Linked DNA regions of Homo sapiens: regions 1 and 2 are each linked to region 3. Evidence: promoter capture Hi-C in human tissues and cell types (Jung and others, 2019). All regions are on one chromosome and are shown on one strand. Each heading gives the region's core, a stretch centred on a gene start or on the middle of the fragment in contact. The rest is flanking DNA. Distances are from core to core; before and after follow the strand shown.

The links. Contacts are between HindIII fragments. The study calls those that stand out against the background at their distance.
Region 1: a contact is called between a fragment that was not itself captured here and the fragment with the promoter of RAB20 in region 3, in 2 of the 25 tissues and cell types used here (bladder and thymus).
Region 2: a contact is called between a fragment that was not itself captured here and the fragment with the promoter of RAB20 in region 3, in 1 of the 25 tissues and cell types used here (dorsolateral prefrontal cortex).

The regions. Positions count from the first base shown.
Region 1 is chr13:111,183,436-111,187,843 of GRCh38, reverse strand. All of the region lies in intron 2 of ARHGEF7 (Rho guanine nucleotide exchange factor 7), which reads right to left. Among named protein-coding and RNA genes, the nearest start is that of ARHGEF7-AS1, 37 kb to the right of the region's middle. RefSeq lists enhancers at 2,615-2,874, 2,975-3,104, 3,565-3,704. The HindIII fragment of the contact is 3,787 bases long and covers 1-3,434 here.
Region 2 is chr13:109,791,996-109,796,699 of GRCh38, reverse strand. No RefSeq gene overlaps it. Among named protein-coding and RNA genes, the nearest start is that of IRS2, 7.8 kb to the right of the region's middle. The HindIII fragment of the contact is 6,622 bases long and covers 1-4,704 here.
Region 3 is chr13:110,558,347-110,562,971 of GRCh38, reverse strand. It overlaps RAB20 (RAB20, member RAS oncogene family), which reads left to right and starts at 1,250. Exons shown (of 2, transcript NM_017817.3): 1 at 1,250-1,624. The coding sequence starts at 1,453. RefSeq lists silencers at 1,121-1,570, 1,462-1,651, 1,631-1,690 and an enhancer at 4,532-4,625. The HindIII fragment of the contact is 6,225 bases long and covers 1-4,625 here.

The DNA.
Region 1 (4,408 bases), core at 292-2,791, 620 kb before region 3:
CAGATGTCACAGCCACTCTGCCTAGCGGACAAAAGTTGACAAAGAAACGGGTCACAGAAGGACACTCCAATGTTTGGGATTCGAAAGGCTCCCCTACTGATACCCCGATATTAGTGACTTTGCCTCACCCCACTTCCAAATTCATAGGAAGTGTAGAAATTCAGGAATATCTTCCACAGAATAAAAACAGCAAAGCAAACTACATCACAAAATAGATCGTGTGATATGTCTAATATATAACACAATGTACATTATGAAAATACTTCATATAATAAAGATCCTGTGTCAGAACCTTTCCACTACAAGCAAGTAAACCCAACTCAAATTGGCTTAAACAAAAAAAGGAAATTATTGGTTCGCACAACAAACAAGTCAGGAATGGCAAGAGCCACAAGCTCAGAACCGGAAGGCTTTCTCCGCTCTCTTTCCTACTCTCCTGAGTGTGCGCCACAGTTTCAGGAACGGTCTCCCTCATCAGGCAACAGGACCACTGGCAGCCCCAGGCCCACACCACCAGGTCAACACCTCAGATGCATCTCGCTGGACCCAGAGCCCACCACGTGAACCAATTTCACAGCCAGTGAAGCAGAACAAGGAGAGCTGTCCAAGGAGCCAACAATAACGGACACAGCATTCTGGCAAACCCACACATAAACATGTATTAATAATTTAGAGCACAAAAATTCAGACAGTCCCCCAGAGCTAAGGGACACCACTGTAGCACTAGGGCCACACAAATGCACGCAAAAGGACACACTGACCAGCTCTATTCCAGCCCAACTGCTTTCACACCACCCTCCCAATACCCACACCAACAAGCACAGCAACCTTAATCAACCCCGTCAGTACTGACACGAGAGCAAAAGAATGCCTCCTGCCTCCATGGTAGCGCTGGCTGATGCACCTCTACGTAGTAGACCCCAAAAAGACCAGACCGGGAAATGGGGAAAGAAGTAGTCGTCTTTTTGCTTCTCCTCACTTTCCACCATCTCAATACTGACGGAGAGGCCTCTGCAATGTGGGACTGAGCGCACACTTTCTGGGCTCACTGAAGCTTTAGTGGTCTGCGTTGCCACCAGTCAGCTCGCCTCCTCCAGGAACTTGAGAAAGTTATTCTTGACACAAGAAATTGTTATTTTTAGCACAGCTCTGGAGTGTGGTTTGCAAAGTTTAAAAATATAATTTTGTCCTATCACTGTCAAATGGAACTTGTGATTTCAGAACAAGAGTAAAAAATGAATCTTAAATAAGTGGTGCTATTTAAGTTTAATGCAAATGGTCCATATTGTTGGGGACATGTGAAAAACAGAAATCCAGCAGTACGTTTTCACTTCCTGGCTTCTGCAGATTTTGTACTTAATCCCACCCACTCCTACACCCCAGGGGTAAAATTAAAGTCTGATGACGGATGCTATCAATTACGGCACTTTCACCCAACATGCACCCAAATGATTTATTTCACTTTAAAATGAAAATCAAATCTTATTCAATTTTGTGGATTCCACTGTATCAACACCCAAACACTAGGACAGAGAATACATCTTCAAAAAAGAAGTAACCAAGTATTTTAGGTAGTTTCCAGGAAGGGGTGAGAGGAGCAGAGCAGGGAGGCAGGAGCACAGCAACGGGAAGGCAGGCAGGGCTCTTCCCAACAAGATGCTCTCTGCCTTCTGCAGACCGGGCGCAACCTCCACACGAGGCAGGGAAGCGCAGCCCCAACAGGCAGGGGAAAGGAAGGACACCTCCCTGCTTAGGACCACGGCATGCTGTGCTGGCCCACACAGCCCGTACCTCAGTGTAGACTGCATGCCAGTTTATCTTACAGGCAGAAAACGAAAACACACACACACACACACACACACACACACACACACACACACACGAGCTCCCAAAAGACAGTGTGACAAAGCTTACAAAGGCAGAACCAAGATCGGAGCCCACCAGCCTGGCTTTGCCCACACCACCACACTGCCAGCCAGGAAAGGACACCAGAGACAGTGGTGTCCCACAGCGGTCATGCAGGCAGATCAGGCAGCACCCAGGGGAGGAGGGGTGGTCTCAGACACAACTCACCACGTACACACACACAGCAGCCCATACAGCCTACACAGGCCCCCAAACTTCTGTCTTCGACTGCTAGGAGCACATGCCTGCAAAGAACAGCCTGGCTGTCGCCAGAAAGTGAGCACATACCACAAAGAAGGATCTGGGCAGATGCAACACACTGGCTTGGGCTAACAGTAAGTGAAGCAGTAACATTTACAGCTATAAAGGCAATGCGCCCATTCCATTAACTTCAAAATGCAAGCAGTTACAAGACTCCAGTTTTGAGAAGTTTCTCAAGATGGCCCACTGCAAACACCTATCTAACTCCCATCCCTCCCAAGGTGCCACCGAAATGAGAGAAAGAAAAAGCTTCAAAAAATTAACAGAGAAAGAACCCGCTGTAGTGCTAAAAAGGGAAAGGCTATGAGCAGTCTAAACAGGGTTTGAGGAGATCCCTGGGGACAGGACGCAGATGGACTCTGAATGACCTAACAGTTCAGAACAGCACTTGTAAGGGAGCCCCAGGAGCACCAAAGACGGTTTTCTAACACAGGAAGGGACACGTGACCCACCTCAGGACTTCAGCACGACAGCCCCTTCTTCCTGATGGGAAGCTCAGCACCCAGACCCCTCTCTAATTAAAAAGAAGCTGCTGCCTGCACTGGATTCTAACCGGAGGTGAAGTGACCCTCTCTAATTAAAGAGAAGCCTGCGGCCTGCACTGGATTCTAACCGGAACCTGATGCACCACTAGGCCCACACAACAGTCTCTGAGGAAAAAAAAAAATGACAATTCTACCCAGAAGCGAAATCCCCTGGGAGCTCCACCACCAGCCTGGACTATCCCCCATCTGAAGTGTGACACAGGAAACAGGTGCAGAGAAAGTGTCTCCCTCAGCTCTGCTCGTGTAGCTGCTTCTAGAGCCCTCCATCCGGTTCTCCCCACCTGCTCCCAGACACACAACCCGCACAGTGAAGCCCACGGGGCCGGTAACCCACACACAGGACTGCACAGTCCCCTCCGCTCTGATGCCAGTCAACTGGGCTTTTATTCACAAACAGGAAGAACCCATCAAGGCCACACCTGATAGGAAATAACAGCATAGCACAAAGAGAACTGACCTATGACTCCCAAAAAGATGGAGAAGACACATCTCCCCCTCCCTCCAGCTGAATGCAGCTAAAAGCCCTGGATGCTGCCTATAAAACAAACGTCAGCCTCAGAATGTGAGAGAGGAGGCAGACCGGCTAAGGGTTTCAGGGCTGGGAACCATGCCAGCGGGTTCTCTGGGTTTTCTTTTTGCCTCAAATGCTCCAAACTGAGTGCTAAACAAGCCAGCAACCCAGAAACACCAACAGGTACAGAAGAAAAGCCTCAAGAAAGACCTATCCTCTCTAGCCAAAGGACCAGGACAGGGCAGCCTAGTAGGTCAAAAAACTTCAACAATAACCATCTGTATTAGTCCGTTCTCACGCTGCTATGAAGAAATACCCAAGGCTGGGTAATTTATAAAGAAAAGAGGTTTAACTGGCTCACAGTTACACATAGCTGGGGAGGCCTCAGGGAACTTACAATCACGGCAAAAGGCACCTCTTCACAGGACAACGAGAGAGAATGAGTGCCAGGCAAAGCAGGGGAAGCCCCTTATAAAACCATCAGATCTCGTGAGAACTAATTCACGATCATGAGAACGGCGGGGAAACCAACCCGTGATTCAATTATCTCCACCTGGTCCCGCCCTTGACAGGTGGGGATTATTATAATTCAAGGTGAGATTTGGGTGGGGACAGAGTCACACCATAACACCATCCTACCCCAACCACACAGAGAGGGTTAAAAAATGCAGTCCCACCCGCACCCGGCCATAAGCAAGTGACCCCCGTCAACCCTTCCCCACAAGTCCTGGTGGAGACTTACAGAGCTCCTCATCTTTTACACAGGAGAGAAGTCTAAGATGACAAGTCAAGAAATACTAGAAATACAGTTAAAAGGTGACTACTAAAAAATTGAAAATTATAAAACCGGTACAATTAGCAAAAATTGGGATTTAGAGGGGCTGTGGGGAAGGTGAGAGACAGAGCAAGTATATTAAATTCCCTCCCTCATAAAGAGGCCATAATGGGGAAGAGAAGAAATGGATTAGAAGAGGGTTTATAGGTAAAAATCCACAGGACTTTATAATAATTGATAAAATGACAATGTACATGTAGTTTATGCACTATTTGATGCTATGCAAATGTAACTTTCAGCAGACAACATGAAAAGTTCAAAGGAGGTTTGATTAGAAAAGACGAAGCCACAGATGATGCCGGAGGTGTGAGACCTGAGGGTAGACCCCATCAAAAAACATCCAAAGAATCA
Region 2 (4,704 bases), core at 1,926-4,425, 770 kb after region 3:
CCTTAGAGCTATCCACTTTCTCCCATGGGGTTATCCTAACTGATGTTTTCCTTTCACCCAGCCCTTTTTCACTCCTTTACCTCCCAAACACTTCCAGTGTCTTCTCTCAAGTGTCCTTTCCATTGCAACACTACTCCCATGCTTTCTGAGTCTCAGCCTTTCCTGAAAGCTGGCTGCATCCTGGGGACACTGACTCTTCTGCTCCCGGAGGATAATGCTTATTTTGCCCCTGGATTTTCCTTCGGATTCTTCTCGTTCTCCAATGTTTCTGCTAAATAGCACTTTGAATTCATAATGCAAAGACTTCATTTATTGAAAGTTCATTCTCATGGATCCTGCCCCATCTGTCATGCCTTCTCCAGGCTGCATTCCCCTCTTCCTCACACCAGGAAACCACGCACTAGATCAACATGGCTCCCATGTCACCAGGTCCCCTGCCTGGACCACTCATCCTCGTTACCCCTGGCTGGCCAGTCCCTGCTGCAATGCTCTCTGCTGTCCACTCCCGTGGTTCTTCAGCAAGCTAGTCTGTGCCCTTTCATTGCGTTTTCTCTGCTAGATTACCTTTCTGTCCCTGACTTCTAAATGTTAAGAGTAGTTGGGTCCAATCCCAGGTGCTCCAATCTCATCTCTCACAGTCACTTTCGGCAAATCCTAGGGACTTAAATGCAGCTAGATGCCCATGAATCCCAAATTAATATCTCCATTCCAAGCCTCTCCAACAGCCTATCCAACATCTTCTCTCAGATTTCTATTATGTCCAACCTCGTGTGTCCAAAATAAATCTCTTAACTCTCCCTCCCCCATCTCAGGAGAAGACCTTGTCATCACCCAGCGACAGTGCAGGACACTGAAGGTCCTCTCTTCCTCCCCTACCCCCAAATCATCACCAAGTGCTACTGAGCCTTTAGAAATTAAAGTCAATTATTTTTACACTGTTAAATATTTGATACATACTTGTGCTACAAAATTCGGAAAGTCCGAAAAGTAACACGATGAAACGTGAGTCCTCTCCCCAACCCGTCCCTTCCCCAGGAAGCCAGGTTGGCTCCTCGCATTGCCATATTTGTGAGGTCACTTGCAGTAGGTATCTGTGCACATACCCACACGTTTTAAAAATAAAAAAAATGGTTGTACTATACTATACACACTGTTCTGAAGCTTGTTTTCCCACCTCACATTATACAGTCAAATATTATTCTGGGTCAGTATAAACAGAGCTGCCTCGTTTGTGTTACAGTTGCATAGGGTTCAAACCTTTGCCATTACAAGACAATACTGTAATCATGTGTATAAGTTTCTATTCCTAACAATAATGCAATGAACACCCTTATAAAGAAGTCATTTCCCATCCACATGAGTAATTCCTGGAAATTAGATTGTGGGTCAAGGAACATGAGACATTTGTCGTTTTGACAGATACAGCCAAATTGTATAGATGCTGTTCAGTCTGTACCACCAGCAGCCTTGGGTGGGAACCTGTTTCCCAACATTCTGGCAAACACACCGTGTTATCAAACTTCTTGATCTGTGCCAATCTGATAGGTGAACTATTCTACCACATTGTGGTTTTAATTTGCATTCATCTTATTACAAGAAAGGTTAAGCAAACTTTCACACATTTAAGCCTTTCTTGCATTAATTTTCATTATTGTGAAATTTGTATTCAGGTCATTCACCAATTTTTAGAATGTTTTTAGTTTCTTATTTTTTACAGCGCTCTTTTAAAGTATTAAATAAGCATCATTAGCACTTCATCTATGATACTGGCTGCAATTTCCTTCCAGCTTCTACTTTAACTTTGCTTTTACTGTTTTTGTTTTGTTTTTACTGTATTCCCCCTACAGAATCCTATTTTAGAAAGTCAAGTTTATCAATATTTCTTTACTTTTCTACTTGGTTTTATGGTTTCATGTTTTAATATTTAATTTTTTGCTTCACCTGACATTTTAGTGAAAGGACACAGGCATCTAATTTTTATGTGTCTACAGGTATATTTTCTGGTTCTGCCAACCCCATTTACTGAATAATCTCTTATCCTCCAATGAAATAAACTGCCAGCTTTATAATATGCTTTGTCCCTTGTATCTAGATTTAGTTCTGTACCAAATACAACTGACCTTTTGATTTGGCTATGTTCATGTAGGTTCTCCACCTCCCACTGATTTGTGAGCTTCCTAAGCACACTGTCAGGGTTTGAGATTTTACTCCCTTTCCCTTAGAAAGTAATGTTAGCCCGTCACCGTTAGGTGGATGCTGGCAGAGGATGTAAGCCTTTCCGGTCAGAGACTCATGGCACAGAAAGTGGCATGACTTGCCTCTATTCCTCTTGCTTCCCGGGCAGCATGGGGCAACAGGGCGGGGCCTGTTGGATGCCACGCCTGCAGTGGGCTGTGTTTCGGCTGACACAAAGGACTTGGGTAATCCACCATTTTTGTAGCAGGAAATAAGCAGGCCCGCACTTTGTTCTGGAATGCGACCTCACCTCTTAGTGTGGTTTGCTGCAAGCACAACCCTTAAAAAAGGCTTGAGTAAAGCAAAGCCAGGGTCTTGCGTATTTCACTGACCCACTAACAGGCGTGGGAGCAGGAGAGACGCACAGAGGAGGGCCTTTCCCAGCAGACACAGCTGAGTGGTTGTGGTCGGTTTGCATTTTGATGTCCACAGGATCAGTGTCTAGTACAAAGTAGGTGCTTAAGAAACGTTGATAAATTTGACCGAATCCAACATTTCACTGGGTTAGAATGAATTTACCACCACACAGCATAACTACATCACTACATCTATTGAGTATTATTCTCTACTACACAGATGGGTCCTCACACTATGGACCCAGGCAGCGTCAAGAGTCCAAAACGGTACCTTCTAAAGGAAGCAACCTAAAAATAAAAGAAATAGAATTACTGTTTGACTCATTAAAACTAATTTCTGTGAAATGAAATTTAGAAACTTCCTCAGCTCAGAGATAAAAGTCACTTTCTCTACTCTACACCATTAGTAAGAAGAAGGTAAAATTGCAGCATTGGACATTAAAATCAAGCACTAAGAAAGTTTTTTTAAAAAAGCCAGATGATGGTTATAATATATGGCAATTTTTATCTTCAAATTATGTGTGGCAATATTGTAACAAAAGACACAAGAAAAAAATATTTGAGGAAAGAAATAGTTGAGGAAAATAGTGCCTTATTACTTAGACAGAAAGCTAATGGGGCAAAGACCTATGTTCTGGGTAATTCTTAGTATACGTTTGAGGCTTAACAAATATCTAGCACATTTTTAGTAACAATGTTTGCGGATTTTTATATTTTGAATTGAAAATGCCATAAATGCACCTTCACGATAAAGGGTGAGCCCACTTTTGTATTATTCTGTAACTAAAACATGATGATATTTAAAACAACAAAGCAAAATGATGATCTAGATATTAATTTCCTTTAAAGTTTATATTGTGAGAGACAAGGGTGCCATTTTGAAATTGTGGTGTACTTTTAGTGTGAAGAAACTTTAAAACTAGGTACAAGTTTATCAAAATAAAACAGGTAAGTATCAAGTCTCAAAAATATGTATTTCATTTTCTGTGTGCTTTTAGTAGCAGTGAGAATCATGTTTTTAAATTCTCACTTTTACTACCTAAAAGGAAATTTTTGTAGTATAAAATATAATTTTAAGATGTTTTCAATATATAATTCCTATTTTTTTTCTCTTTTAGCAAGACAACCTTGGGCTGACATTCGAAATTTTTACTAAAGAACCAGCAAGTACTAAAATGCAGGCTGATGTTTACACTTTCAGTAGTAATTCTTAGAATGTGTTTATCTGAACTGAAATCTCTACTTAACAGTCAGCGGGAAATGGCAATAAATGGCATCTGCCCTAAATTTCACAAGTTGTTGCTTTATTTATTTTCTTGTGAACCTCATTAATCCATACTCCCTCAAGTCACTTTAGTTTAGTTAATATTATTTGTGTGACAAAAGTGTTTTGAACAAGGAAAAATGGAAAATTCATGTATAAATAGCTAATCATTGGTCTTAAACATAGCATATACACGGAGGCTCAGAGGACAGGTTGGTAAAGATTACTCAAAAGGAGAATTAAAAGACCGCTCAATTCTCAGTTGTGTCATAATCGTATCTTTATGGTAGCTACATATTATAAAATGTTTTTTATTTATCCCTCATACTAGTAAGCGTCAAATTCATGATCTTTGTGAGTATACTGACAAACTACTCTCACAAGCTATTACTATTATTGATATTTTATATATCAACTTTTTTTCATCCATAAAAGTACCTCAACGACATGTTCAGTAGCAAATAAGTTTTCAGATCCCTTCACTCTATTGAATAACAGCTCTGAACACTTTGACTAACTTGAATATCTTCTATTTGCAATGCCTAAAGATTGAGAATAAAGCAGTTAAGAAGGAAGGTGTAATTTGTAAATTTAGAATTGCCAAATTAGTAATGAGTATGTAAGTTCAAATAATTTTACGCAATCAAAAAGATAGTGACATTCGATGCTTATTGCCATTTGTTATTTATGTTTTTAAAATACATTTTTGTTATGTGTCATTTTCAGAGTATGTTTTCTTTCCTATCTTACTTTTTCCAATTTGCTTTTCAATCTTTCAAGATGACTTTGGCTTATCCTAAAAAGAATGTGAGACTTAAAGGTCAATGTAGGGGAGAAATACAATTAAAA
Region 3 (4,625 bases), core at 1-2,500:
ACCTGACATGCCAGGGCTGAGCAGGTACGAAATACCTTGGCATTCCTGCCTTGTCGGAGTCTCAGGGCACCTACGAAGGAGGCAACGGGCCTATTTCCCTTTACAGGACACCTTCAGGACACGGGTTTTAACCTGCTCAGGGTCTCATCGCCTTTCCCAGCCAGGCCAGCGGCCAGAGTGACACTGTCCCCCAGGGTTTAACTTAGAGTCCATTCTACCTCTCATTTTCTCTAAAAAACCCCAACCAACCAACTAACCAAATTCTACACGCTGCATATTTTAAAAGCATTTCAAGGTTTATCCTTTAAAACGGAAGGAGGACCTGGGAGGCCGAAGCGGGTGGATCACGAGGTCAGGAGTTCGAGACCAGCCTGGCCAACATGGTGAAACCCCGTGTCTACTAAAAATACAAAAATTAGCCGGGCATGGTGGCACATACCTGTAATCCCGCCTACTCGGGAGGCTGAGGCAGGAGAATCGCTTGAAACCGGAAGGCGGAGGTTGCAGTGAGCCGAGATCGCGCACTGCTCTCCAGCTTGGGCAACAACAGCAAAACTCCGTGTCAAAAATAAAAAAAAAAAAAAAAAAAGAAGGAGGAAATATTTCTCAAGTAGCGACTGCAACTTCCATAGTCAAATTTTCATTCCAAGCTATAAATGGAGATGACTGTCCACTTTTCAGGACAAAAAGCTTCTTGCAAAAGTAGAAGAGCAAAAGCAAAATCCTCCACTAGAAAGCGCCCCCATCTCTAATCTGTAACAGTGAGAGCCTCAGGACGAGTTCCGCAGACGCTCATTTAAAGCAAACTTTTTCAATGACCTTGAGGGTGGCTGTACTTACACGCGGAGAAGCAAATCGACCGCAGCTGGAAAGGCGCTGGGTCGAGCGTGAGAGGAACACGGGTTTTACCTAAGGGAGAGTGGAAGAGAGAAGGGGGTTCCCCAAGGGCCCCGGCCCCTTCGCCTCGTTCGGGCCCCGCGGCCAAGCTCCTCGCACCGCAGCCCCGGCTGTGCAGAAGCGGAGGGGCGGAAGGTGCTCTCAGAACTTTCATTTTCCACCCTGCAGCAGTCCCGAGCCTCGGCTGGAGAACTCGGATGCTTGCGAAACGGCGAGGTCCAGCAGGGGCGGGACGGGGGCGGTGGGCGGAGGAGGATAGGGCGGGGCCGCGGCGGTGAAAGGGCCCGGGGGCGGGGGCGGGGGCGGGGCGAGGCGAGGCCGCCGCGGTCCGGGCCCCCGACGTGGGCTCCGTGCTCTGCACCCAGCTCCTTCCCGGGCGCGCACACGCGCTTCCTCTCTTGAGCTCCCGGGCGTCCGGAGGCGAAGGTCCCGGAGCGTTCACGAGAATCCGGGTCCCGGCGAGTCCGGGGTCCGCTCCTCCAGCTGCGCCCAGGGCGCACGAGCCGGCCAGCCTCGGGGAGAGGGCGCGGGGGCGCTGGGGGTTCTTACGGGAAGATGAGGAAGCCCGACAGCAAGATCGTGCTCCTGGGGGACATGAACGTGGGGAAGACGTCGCTGCTGCAGCGGTATATGGAGCGGCGCTTCCCGGACACGGTCAGCACGGTGGGCGGCGCCTTCTACCTGAAGCAGTGGCGCTCCTACAACATCTCCATCTGGGACACCGCAGGTGAGGCCGGCGCCGCATGAGCCACACCGCCCTGGGGCTCCGCCGGGGACGGGGGGCGCGGGGCTTCCAGCAGGGCACCCGGCCGCGCACAGGGTCCCGGCCTCGGACAGCAAATGCCTCCTTCTCGGGGTTTCCCACTCGTCCTCCCTTGCTGGTTGGGCTGAGCGCTGCCTCTCAGCCACTCAGTGACCTCAGGGACAACCCAAGTTGCAGAGAACCCGCTGGTCATTTGTGTACCTAAGCTGCCTTTGCTCCCGAGCCCCGCGTTCCTGCTCTGCCGCCCTGGGAACCAGAGACGCTCCTCTGTGGCTGCTTTGTTAGGTATTTTCAGTTTTCACGTACCCGTAGGAACATGATATCCTTTGAGATTCACTTGAGGGGTGAGCAGAGCTGGTGTTATTAGCCCCTTTCTAAGAAAAAGTAAAATGAGGCACAGAGTGTTCCCCCCTGTTGGGTTTAGTCAGGAGAGAGGAAATAAAACTGGAGCCTCCGGACCTCTTAGCCCGGAGCATATCTGCCTTTTACAGTTAATCTTCTGCTTGATCTTGGCTCAGATACGTCATATGGGTTTGGGTTGGAGTGACTTCCGGTGGAAGCATTTTTAAGATAGGTAATGAGTTATTTTTATTGTGTAGTATTTGTGACTTTTCAAAAGTACAACTTAGAGGATCTCAATTCAGGCTTTCTGTTTAACTTTGGAAAATAACACTGGTGATTGTAGCATTGCAATGGAATATATTTCCTTCTCCTTACAAAAGAATAAGATATTGTAAGTGAATGAAGAAACTGGAAATAGTGTGACACATTTTCAATGAGTGTGAGTTTTTAGAAGCCTGAAACTCTGAAAGTTCTGACTTCTTTTATGTTAGCATCTTAAAAAGTCATATACCCAAAGGCCCCGTCCAGAATTCTTAAATTGCCATCTTGGGTGTATCAGTATGCTGAATAAACAAGATGATAATGAATTCTCTCTTTAAAACTGAATTAACGAAGCTCACAGAGGTACTTCCAGTTCTCCCCCTCCCTTTTGCCTTCTTTGATGCTTTTTTATTATTATCCCAGTTAACATCGTGACTAATTTATTGGCAATCATCTTGTGAAAACAATGTCCCCCAGGTAAAGAGGTGCATTTCCCTGATCTTTGCTCCAACTCTGTCTTCTGCCTCAGGCTGCAGGATGAGGTTTACTGAGCTGACTCCCTCACACTGAGCATTTGGTAACGATGGAACACACGCTCTAGAAGTCAAATCGAACCCAATTCACGAACCCAATTTGCTTCTGTACAAAGTCAAATTGAACCCAATTTGGTTTTGTACAAAGCTTTGCCCCTCTGCTGCTTTTGCTGGTTGGCTGGGATTTACTGCTGCCCTTGGTTTACAAGTAGCAAGGTTAATGCAGGAGTGTTATTGGGGGACCCTAACCGAAACCCCTGTAGTGGCCACCGTTGGAGGCAGACTCTTAACACACGGTGTGTTTCTGGAACAAGAGCTGCCCTGCAGTGCTGGAACGGCCCCTGCATCGGAGGGAATGAAGCAGCAGTTTCGTTTCCACTGGCCTCTTGCTTCTTCAGCACCAAGGACGTGATGCAGCCGGAATCCTGATCACCAGAGATTTTGCAGTTGTGCTGATGTGACGCCCCAGATGTCTTGAAGCGTTACTGGGGGGCAGCAGCTCATTTCCTGGCATCCGAGGCTGCTGCTGCTTGTTCGAAAGATCCTAAGGGTGAATTACTAGAGCTCCTCAGAACAGAGAGTGGCCAGGCCCCTTCTCCACATTCCTGACTTCCTGTGTACACACTCAGGCGGCCCTTGCCCAGAGTTGGCAGGGACACAGGGCACCCTTGCCTGCCTCCTCGGTGGCCTGTGGCCTGACCGGGTACTTGAAGGGAAAAGAGAGGTAGGAACAGATACCTTTTCTATAATTGTTGGAAATTCAGAATTTAACATTTAGGGGACCCTGTTCTTTTCCTTCTTTTGCTGAGCTCCTAAACTTTCTCTCCACCCCACAGACATTGCTTTTCAAGTTGTTTTTGTTGTAATTGTCATAACCGAGGCAGAATGGTAAGGACCAGCCGGAGGAGGAACCATTTTGAAAGTTGCTTTTAGCCACACAAGGCAGGGTGGGCTGGGGTGGGGGTGCAGGTGTGCAGAGGGCGACAGGATGTTTAATAGTAAAAACGATTGCATGGGGGTCAGTGTACACCCAATGCCTGGCTGCTTGTAGCCTGCAAGGCAGGCAGTGGATGGAGCTGAAGAGGGGGAAGAGAGTTGGCAGGGCAGAAGTACATTACCCTATTCCATTGACACAACAGTCCTCCAGAGGGAGGTGTGATTATTTGCATGTTAAAGATGGGGCCAGGCGTGGTGGCTCATGCCTGTAATCCCAGCACTTTGGGAGGCTGAGGTGGGTGGATCACGAGGTCAAGAGATCAAGACCATCCTGGCTAACATGGTGAAACCCCATCTCTACTAAACATACAAAAGTTAGCAGGGCGTGGTGGCGCACACCTGTAGTCCCAGCTACTCGGGAGGCTGAGGCAGGAGAATCGCTTGAACCAGGAGGCAGAGGTTGCAGTGAGCCAAGATTGTGCCACTGCACTCCAACCCGGTGACAGAGCGAGACTCTGTCTCAAAAAAAAAAAAAAAAAAAAAAACAGATGGGAAGACAGGGCTGCGCGGTGGCTCATGCCTGTAATCCCAGCACTTTAGGAGGGTGAGGCGGGCAGATCACCTAAGGTCAGGAGTTCAAGACCAGCCTGGTTAATGTGGTGAACCCGTGTCTACTAAAAATACAAAAATTAGCTGGGTGTGGTGGCTGGCGCCTGTAATCCTAGCTACTTGGGAGGCTGTGGCAGGAGAATCGCTTGAACCCTGGAGGCGGAGGTTGCAGTGAGCCAAGATTGCGCCATTGCACTCCAGCCTGGGTGACAAGAGTAAGACTCTGTCTCAAAAAAAAAAAAAAAAAAAAGTGGGAAGACAGCAGAAGTTAAGTGGGATTTAGA